Linked DNA regions of Homo sapiens: regions 2 and 3 are each linked to region 1. Evidence: promoter capture Hi-C in 16 types of primary human blood cells and fetal thymus (Javierre and others, 2016). All regions are on one chromosome and are shown on one strand. Each heading gives the region's core, a stretch centred on a gene start or on the middle of the fragment in contact. The rest is flanking DNA. Distances are from core to core; before and after follow the strand shown.

Region 1 (3,115 bases), core at 208-2,707:
CTCGGCCTCCCCGGGCCAAAGGCGTGGCCAGGGATCCAGATCAAACGCCGGTCTTTTGGAGACGCCAGGGGCGGCGCGCGGCCGGTCCCTCCTTCGAGCCCCCCGCGCTGGGCCCTTTCGAGGGGCCGCCCCGCGAAGCACCGGGAGGGCGGAGGGGGGCTCCTCAGGGCCGGCCCGCCCCCACCCCGCAGTGCTCTTACCTCCACACCTGCCCCATCTGCAGCAGGTGGATGACCGACTGCCAGATCCACACGGAGAGGCGACACAGGCGCTGCGCCCCCGGCGTGGGGGAGACCCTCACGCCTGGGCCACCGCGGGCCGCGCCGTGGACGTAGCCGGCCCCCATCATGGGGGGGCCCCGGCTGGTGAGCCCCTCCACGGCGCCCAGCCCGCCGCCCGTGTAGTCCTGCACGAACCAGCGGAAGCTCAGGCTCTGCACCAGCAGCGACGGCACCAGCACGAAGAAGAGGGTCAGCCCGAAGTAGACGTAGTCCCCCTTGCGGTAGTAGTCGAGGGCCAGCCACAGGTCGGTGCCCACGTCCCCGAAGAACACCAGCAGCGCCAGCACGATCCACAGGCAGTCGAGCCACGGCCGCTCCACCTGCGGCGGCGGCGGCTCCGGCCGCGCGGCCGAGGGCGTCGGGGGTTGGCGGCCGGCGCCGGGGGCCGCGGGAGGCTGCAGCGGCTGGTCCCCCCCGTCGGCGGCGGCGCTGCGGCGCGGCTTCCTGCCCAGGAGGGAGCGCAGGCAGGCGGAGCGGCAGCCCCAGTAGCACGAGGAGGTGTTGCAGCAGTGGCAGATGTGCATCGAGCTGCTCTCGCCGGGCTCGCTGCCGTCGCCGCCGCCGCCGCAGCCGCCTCCCCCGGGCTCCCCGTCCTCCTCGCCGCCGCTGCCCACCGCCTCGTCCAGGTTGTGCAGCTGAGCGAAGCCCACCCCCACGCCACCGCCATCGGATTTCGCCGCCATCTTGACTCTCTTCCCAGCTCCGGAGGTTGGGGGGGAGGGACGGCGGGGGGGGGGGGAAGAAGGCAGGGAACGGGGAGGGGGGGAAACGAATGGAGAGGAAGGGGGGCGGGGAGGAAGCGGGGGAGCAAACGAACGAGGGGGGAGTGGGCCAGGGAACCCCCTCCGCTTCCGGGTAGTTGGCGTCACTTCCGGGCGAGCCCCCCAATCGCACGGCGCCCGCAGCTCCCCAGCCCTACCCTCCCGGCCAAGATGGCCGCCCTCCTGTGCCTCAGCTGCTGGGCGGGGGACCGGGGGGTTCTCCCCGCCAGGGCTCCCCTTCCCCTCTTCCGTTGACCCCGAAACCCATCAGGTTGACCCCTCGGCGTTTCAGAATCCGGCTGGCCCGAGTGAGGCGGTCCAAAGTGATCCCTGGAGGGGGCAGTGCCAGACGTTTTGGGGTCCCCTTCCTCAGCGTCGCAGCTCACAGCTTTCCTCCTGGAGAAACGCCCCCTAACACCCTCCCGGCTGCTGGTGGAGGGGCGGGACCTCTGAGGGAAGGGGCGGAGCTAGTGCAAAGCAGGTGATTACGTGTCACTTCCGGGAGATGGGATGACCTCATTGTGTAGTTAGACAACACCCCCCCCCAATCAAAATGTCTATGTCTCACCTCTTTGGCTGTTTCTATTTTCTTTTAAATTTCTCTTATTCTTCTCTTATTTTGAGGGTCTTTAAAAATTACATAAGTCAGATTTTCACAATCAAGTTACTGATTCTCACTTCCATTTAGACACCTCTCCTCTTACCTCTGTTGACCTCCTGATTTTCCTGTCACTGACAACTTAACCACCTTTTGTAATAAAGTTTCCATCATTACCTTAAAAAAGCTTCAGGCAAAATTCAATTGGAAATCAGCCTGGTTGGGTCTTACATGTTGGAGCAAGGAATGAATGGGCATATTGTGACCTTGAATATATTTTCTGCCCTATGGAAATATATTCTACCAACTTTTTTTTTAATATGCAATTTTTAAATTCTGTGATCTTAATTTGGAAAATGCAGAACTAGCCAGGGCTTAACCTGTATCAATTATTTGTTCAGGTTATTTAAATGTGTAAGGAGTGCCTTTTAGAATTTTTTTGGTGCTAAGGCGCTGTGGGTAAACATTGCTTTAAATAAGGAAAAAAATGTTATCAATGTGCTATATCATTAAAGTAGGTGCAGGATACACTACTTAAACTTAGCTAACAAATTACAAAAGTGAAACAGCACTGAATGGATTTGAATTACAATGATCTTCCAGTGAAAGTATTTTTGAAGCCAGATAGCCAAAATAGGGCAAGCTACATGGTTACAGTTGTTCCTGATCAGATGAAATGAACATTTTACAGTTAAAAAAAAGAATGAGGGGGAAAAAAATCCCTGAATTTTCTCATTGACTTCCCTAGATTTTTGAACTCATTTTTGTGATTCTGTCTACTTCTCCATTCACTAAAGTCTTCTAATAATGCCAATAACTGTCTTTAGAATGTTAAGAGTACAAATTAGGTAATATTTATATGGCTGGAGGTTCTATGGCAGAAAGGTGCGTTTGACAACTTCAATAGTTACTTTGATACTATTGAATACTATGGCACCTATGAGTTTTGGGAGTGGCAGGGTAGATGGGGATACTACATTTTAGGACACAGCTTTTCATGAGTATATATGCCAGTGTGAAATCTCTGAAGACTTTAGAAAAATTACTAATAGTGAATTTTTACTCCCATACATTGGGAAGAGGGGAGTGATTCCAAAATCAACTTTTAGAAACCAGCCATATAACTGTATCCATGTATTTCATGCTATGATTTAAGCCTCATACTCCCTATGGTATGTAAAACTCATACTCATATGTAAGCCTCATACTCCCTATGGTAGTAAAACTTAAGGCCAGCAGGTAAAGATTATTTCTGCATATAGATGGGATTCTGTTTCTTTGCTGAATTTGAATGAATAACACCTTACATGGCATAAATATAGAGTAGGATTGCCCAGGTATGAACCCCAATTTCACTAAAATAGTAACATGAATAATGTGAGCAAGATTACCTCTTCAAATCTCAGTTTTCACCTTGATATAATAGAAATAACAACAGTGACTTTTCTGAAAAGTTGCTGGGCAGAGTAAAGGTG
Region 2 (3,115 bases), core at 1-2,500, 670 kb after region 1:
GAGACAGAGCCAGCCAACGCCCTCTTAGGCCTCTTCGCCTTACGTTCCTGAACGTTTGGATTCAAAGAGAGTGCATCTCAGCTATCCTCTCCTCCGGCAGCAGGCAGTGGGAATGTTTTTCCAGGCTACAAAAAGGTGCCAGGTCTGCATTTGAACCCCACAGCGTCACTTCTCCAGTGGGTTTGGGGGGTCTCTCGTCCGTTAGGAGGAGGAGTGTGGGGCCTGCGCTAGGGTCCTTTTCTTTGCCAGCCTGCTGGCTTTCTCAGCGCCTGGGAAGGGGGTGACAGAGGCCCACCAGGAAGCCAAGTGCAATTCACTTCCACCTGGGTCGCCCACCCCAGCCTGCCTGCAACGCCCCACACCCAGCACCCACTGCTCCCCAGAGGCCAACTCCCCCCGGCCTCCAGGGCTACTAACCGAGGGGGAGGTGGCGCCCCAGGGACTCTGCCCGGCCTCCCTTTACTGGAGTCCAGGAGCAGGGTGCGCCCCCGGCCTTCTCCCCACCGGCATCCAATCGCCCATTCGCCTCTTGGTTTCGCTGTCTGGTTTCTCTTCCTGTTTATGGATTTAACACCGTGCGGCTTCCTCCCCAGCCCACCCAGTGCCAGATTCCTGTTCTTCAACAGGACCTGTCTTCTGGGGTCCCAGGAATTGCGTGGGATCTTGCGCAGAAAGTTGGCCAGGCAAATCCTTCGCAATGAGGGGGAAATAAACCGAAAATAGATGCCGGCAGATGCGATTATGTCGGCAGTTTGGCCCGGAGACACCGAGGCCCAGGCGCTGGGAGCGCGGTCCCAGGCAGCAGTCTCCGGACCCGGCCGAGCTCTTCCTCGCAGGCGCCTCCCTCGGCGGTCCTGGCCGCGTCCCCGCTCCGAGGGCCGGGGTCCGGCGCACAGCCCGGGGAGGGGAGCGGAGGGCAGAGGGCTGGCGGGCGGAGCTGTTTTCTGCTTTTCTCGCCGACGCTTCGGAGCGCGCGGACTCCCACCCCAGCCCGCCCGTCAGGGACAGTCCCGAGGGTCCCGGCTCCCCGCCGGCCCCCAGGGACGCCGCGGGGCCGCGCCTGGGCCCGACTGAGGGCGCAGAGGAACCCGTCTCGGCGGCCGGGTAGCACCGTCCCCGCCAAGGTCACTTACGCTGCGGTGGCCCCGGGTCCCCAGCACTCACCCAGCGCTGCAGCCGAGAGCCTGCAGCCCAGCCTGCGCGCAGCGGAGCGGTTGGCGTTGCCGGAGCGGTTGCCGGAGCCCTGCAGCCGCCGTAGCCTGGGCCAGCCCCGGCCCTAAGTACCCTCCCGGCCCCGCCCCACGTGACCACCGCGCAGCCCCGCCCGGGCCCTCCCGCCGCCCGCGCACGGTGCTTCCCAGCCCCCACCCCCTCCCGCCACCTTCCGCCGCCCGCGCTCCCCGCTTCCCGGCCCCGCACACCCCCCGCCCCCTTCCGCTCGGGGTCCGGGGCCACCGCCGGGGGCGGGCGGGGGCCTGAGCGCGCGGGCTGGGGAAGAAGGGCTTGGAGCCCTGCGGGCCCTGGGTGGCGAAACGCTGCGAATTGGGGCCAGGGGATGGGGAAAAAGCCCCTAAAGGTGGTCCCAAGGCCCCCACCCCGCCTAGAAAAGTCCCCCCGCCTCGCGGGACCGCCTCCGCCAGAACCCGCGCCTGGGATCCCTGCCTGCCGAGTTGGCGGGGGTGGGGTGGTGGAGAGGGCGCCGTCGCTTATTTCATTCATTCAGAAGCCGCTGCAGAGGCTGGGGGTGGCGAGGCTGTGGACCCCACAGAACAGCCTTTAGAAGGGCCACTTTGTTGTTCAGAGAACGTACCCACAAAACACTACAGCTACGTACAAATAGAAAAGAGTGGCTGTCACTGCGAAGGAACCTAGGAGCTGCGTCAGGATTTCTAAGAGGAGAAGGACCTTGGGGGCGGAAATCGGTTTGGCACAGGAGTACCCGGAGACCTGCTCCGAGAGGACGGACAAAGTGCACATTTACTTGGGGTTTATTACCGGGAGGCCCTGGAAGGGAGATGCAGGGGTTGGCTCAAGACTCACCCTCCTCCAGACACTCCCCAAACAGCTTTAATCCTTAAGACAAACCTGCAAAGCAGGCATGACCCCAGTTGTATTCAAGAGGCTCAGAGGGGCTGGGTTCGGTGGCTCACGCCTGTAATCCCAGCATTTTGGGAGGCCGAGGCCGGTGAGTCACCTGAGGTCGGGAGTTCGAGACCATCCTGACCAACATGGAGAAACCCCGTCTCTACTAAAAATACAAAACTAGCCGGGCGTGGTGGCGCGTGTCAGTAATCCCAGCTACTCGGGAGACTGAAGCAGGAGAATCGCTTGAACCCGGGAGGCGGAGGTTGCGGTGACCAGAGATCGCACTATTGCACTCCAGCCTAGGCAACAAGAGTGAAACTCTGTATTAAAAAAAAAAAAAAGGCTCAGAAGAATCGTATTTTATCCAGGCTGTGGCGACAGTAAGAAGGCAGTAGCCGGGTGCAGTGGCTCACGCCTGTAATCCCAGCACTTTGGGAGGCCGAGGCGGGCGGATCACGAGGTCAGGAGATCAAGATTATCCTGGCTAACACGGTGAAACCCCGTCTCTAGTAAAAATACAAAAAATTAGCCGGGCGTGGTGGCGGGCGCCTGTAGTCCCAGCTACTCGGGAGGCGGAGGCAGGAGAATGGCGTGAACCCGTGAGCTGAGATCGTGCCACTGCACTCCAGCCTGGGCGAAAAGCGAGACTCCGCCTCAAAAAAAAAAAAAAAAAAAAAAAAAAAGGCAGTAGGACTGCATGGGACCTGGTTCCCTGCAGCCTGGTCGTCAGCTGTCACACAGCCCTGAGCCTGTCTTCAGAGACATGCCTGTACTCCCGCCTGGTTAGTAACAAACTAAGGATAGGAGTGGAAGGAAAAAATAATCTCTGGAGCCCAAACATGGTCACTAAGCCCCCAGCAGAGTGGGATACCCGAGGAACTGAGGACCAGGAGGCTGGAGGTCAAGGTGGTCCCAACTGCCTGCTCACCCTAGTCATATCCTGACAGCCATGGACTCTGGACTCCAAATCATTTCAGACCTCTATAAGGAGCTCATAAGATGGCCAAAATGGGGAGGACACAGCCAGAAC
Region 3 (3,115 bases), core at 396-2,895, 570 kb after region 1:
CTGCTTTAGGTGGGAAGGAGACTCCATCTCTGTGCTTCCAGGACATCATGTACTTCCTCCTGTTCTTCCCTTTTTACTGAGTTGTTCTGCTTGTTGAGGGGAGAGGACAGATGCAGAGGGCAGGGGCTGCTCCTCGCCAGTATTGTGCCCCCAGCACTTAGCTGAGTGCCGGCACGTAGGAAGCACGGGTGGTGCCTGTGGATGAGCTCACGCGCTCTGCTGCTGCTTAGCCGTGTGCTCTTAAGCATGTTCATCTCATAGCTCTTTCTTCTATTGTAGAATGGAGATAAGCCATTGACCTCTTAAAGTTGTTGTTTTAAGTAGAGTTTATGCCTGGCACATAACGGGTACTCCATAAGTACTAGTTCCCTTTCTTCCATCTTGCCCTCACCCCCCACCCCCGCAACACACACACACAGAGGTTTTAAAACCGTTGTTAGTTAGAACTGGAAGAGATCCTGTAGCCCTGTACCCATAGTTGATTCCTTTGGAGACTGAGGCTCGGAGAAGGGAGTACTTAGCCCAAGCTCAGGTGGCTGGCAAGGAACAGGTGAGAGCACGGGGTCCCATGGCCTCCAGGACTGTGGCCTCTTTGTACACACTGTCCTTCGAGGTTTGCAGGGGCAGAATTGTCTCTTGTCTCTGGATCCCCAGCACTTACCAGGGTGTCTGCCACAGAGCTGGCTGTAAGAGAATATTTCCCAAGTGGATGGGTGGGCAGATGGATGTGCGGTGAAGGAACCCGTAGACGGGACTGGGAGCTGCTTTCCCAGTAAACCAAGCAGAAAACCATGTTGCAGGGAACCTAAGGTTGCAGGGAACCTTCGGGGCTGCCTGGCAGTGCTTTGAAGTGAGCGCCCTTCCCTGCTTCTCCCTGTCGGCGGGTCCCTGACCCTAGGAACTTAGAACTGAATTGAGAACATACGGCTTGTATCGACACAGGCCACACTATTAAGCTATGCTAAATGGGGAGGGCAGAGCACATCATAAAGGCCCAGGTAATGACCCTGACAGGAAGAGGTCCCGGTGGCCTGGAGAAGATGTGCAGGAGGTAGGACTTGAGTTGGGCCTTGAAGGCTGGAGGATTTCAGTGGACTGAAGAGGGAGGAAAGGGCATTTCAGGCTTGAGAAGCAGTTACAGGCGGGCCGATGGAGGTGGAGTGAGCAGGGTGAGTTGATGAGGCAGGAGGGAGCTTGGCTGCACTCTGTGCCATCTGTTTGTCTGGCACATCCTTTTCTTGTCAGCTCTCCATTTTCTATATAGGAGTTGTGTTGGATTACTCATAACAGACTCAGAAAAATGGCTACTCTAGCTCATGGTTTTCTCCTCCTCCAGTAATGGAACAGTCCAGGGTGGTATAGGAGCAACATTGGAAACCAAGCTCCTTCTACTCTCCCCTTCCAAGACTGGGTAATTTATGAAGGAAAGAGGTTTAATGGACTCACAGTTCTGCATGGCTGGGGAGGCCTCGCAATTATGGCAGTAGGCGAAGGGGAAACAAAGGCACATCCTACATGGTGGAAGGCAAGAGAGCTTGTGCAGGGGAATTACCATTTATAAAACCGTCAGGCCAGGTGCAGTGGCTCATGCCTGTAATCCCAGCACTTTGGGAGGCAGAGGTGGGCAGGTCGCCTGAGGTCAGGAGTTTGAGACCAGCCTGGCCAACATGTTAAACCCCATCTCTACTAAAGATGCACAAATTAGCTGGGCATGGTGGTGGGCGCCTGTAATCCCAGCTACTTGGGAGGCTGAGGCAGGAGAATTGCTTGAACCCAGGAGACAGAGGTTGCAGTGAGCTGAGATCGCACCTGCGCTCCAGCCTCAGCAACAGAGTGAGACTCCATCTGAAAAACAACAACAACAAAAAACCCATCAGATCTCTTGAGACTTATTTACTATCACGAGAACAGCCCCCATGATTCAATTACCTCCCACTGGGTACCTCCCACCAGGTCCGTCCCATAACACATGGGAATCATGGGAGTTATATTATTCCACCCCCAGGCCCTTCCAAAGCACAAGTCCTCACATTTCAAAACCAATCATGCCTTCCCAACAGTCCCCAAAAGTCTTAATTCATTTCAGCATTAATTTAATAGGCCACAGTCCAAAGTCTCATCTGAGACAAGGCAGGTTGCTTCCACCTATGAGCCTGTAAAATCAAAAGCAAGTTAGTTACTTCCTAGATACAATGGGGGTACAGGCATTGGGTAAATACACCTGTTTCAAATGGGAGAAATTGGCCAAAACGAAGGGGCTACAGGCCCCATGCAAGTCTGAAATCCAGTGAGGCAGTCAAATCTTAAAGCTCCAAAATGATCTTTGACTCCATGTCTCTCATCCAGGGCACGCTGATGCAAGAGGTAGACTCCCACGGCCTTGGGCAGCTCTGCCTCTGTGGCTTTGGTAGGGTACAGTCCGTCATCCTGGCTGCTTTCACAGGCTGGCATTGAGTGTCTGTGTGTTTTCCAGGGCAGGGTGCAAGCTGTCAGTAGATCTACCATTCTGGGGTCTGGAGGACAGTGGCCCTCTTCTCACAGCTCTACTAGGCAGTGCCCCAGTGGGAACTCTGCCTTGGGGCTCTAACCCCGTCTTTTCCTTCTGCACTGCCCTAGCAGAGGTTCTCAATGAGGGCTCTGCCCCTGCAGCACACCTCTGCCTGGACATCCCGTTGTTTCTATACATCCTCAGAAATCTAGGTGGAGGTTTCCAAACCTCCATTCTTAACTTCTGTGCACCTGCAGGCTCAACACCACATGTGAACCGCCAAGGCTTGGGGCTTGTACCCTCTGAAGCAGCAGCCTGGGTTGTACATTGGCGCTTTTTAGCCATGGCTGGAGGGGCTAGGACACAGGGCACCAAGTCCCTAGGCTGCACACAGCAGAGGGGGCCCTGGATCTGGCCCAGGAAACCATTTTTTCCTTCTAGGTGTCTGGACCTGTGATGGGAGGGGCTGCTGTGAAGGTCTCTGACATGCTCTGGAGACATTTTCCTTATTGGCTTGGTGGTTAGCATTTGACTCCTAGTTACTTATGCAAATTTCTGCAGCCAGCTTGAATTTCTCCCCAGAAAATGGGTTTTTCTTTTCTACTGCATCATCAGGCTGCAAATTTT

The links. The method cuts DNA at HindIII sites, captures the fragments that hold promoters and counts their contacts. A CHiCAGO score of 5 or more calls a contact.
Region 2: the fragment with the promoter of CTSB here is called in contact with the fragment with the promoter of XKR6 in region 1 in 2 of 17 cell types (total B cells and fetal thymus); the score reaches 6.3 in total B cells.
Region 3: a fragment that was not itself captured here is called in contact with the fragment with the promoter of XKR6 in region 1 in 3 of 17 cell types (naive CD4 T cells, naive CD8 T cells and total CD8 T cells); the score reaches 5.6 in naive CD4 T cells.

The regions. Positions count from the first base shown.
Region 1 is chr8:11,200,376-11,203,490 of GRCh38, forward strand. XKR6 (XK related 6) reads right to left here and starts at 1,458. Exons shown (of 3, transcript NM_173683.4): 1 at 201-1,458. The coding sequence starts at 964. RefSeq lists silencers at 1-411, 612-971, 1,052-1,221. The HindIII fragment of the contact is 2,424 bases long and covers 1-1,825 here.
Region 2 is chr8:11,866,837-11,869,951 of GRCh38, forward strand. It overlaps CTSB (cathepsin B), which reads right to left and starts at 1,251. Exons shown (of 10, transcript NM_001908.5): 1 at 1,165-1,251. RefSeq lists an enhancer at 515-724 and silencers at 815-1,144, 1,285-1,404. The HindIII fragment of the contact is 8,989 bases long and covers 1-3,115 here.
Region 3 is chr8:11,772,525-11,775,639 of GRCh38, forward strand. The region is part of intron 2 of NEIL2 (nei like DNA glycosylase 2); the gene reads left to right. Among named protein-coding and RNA genes, the nearest start is that of NEIL2, 4.4 kb to the left of the region's middle. The HindIII fragment of the contact is 7,750 bases long and covers 1-3,115 here.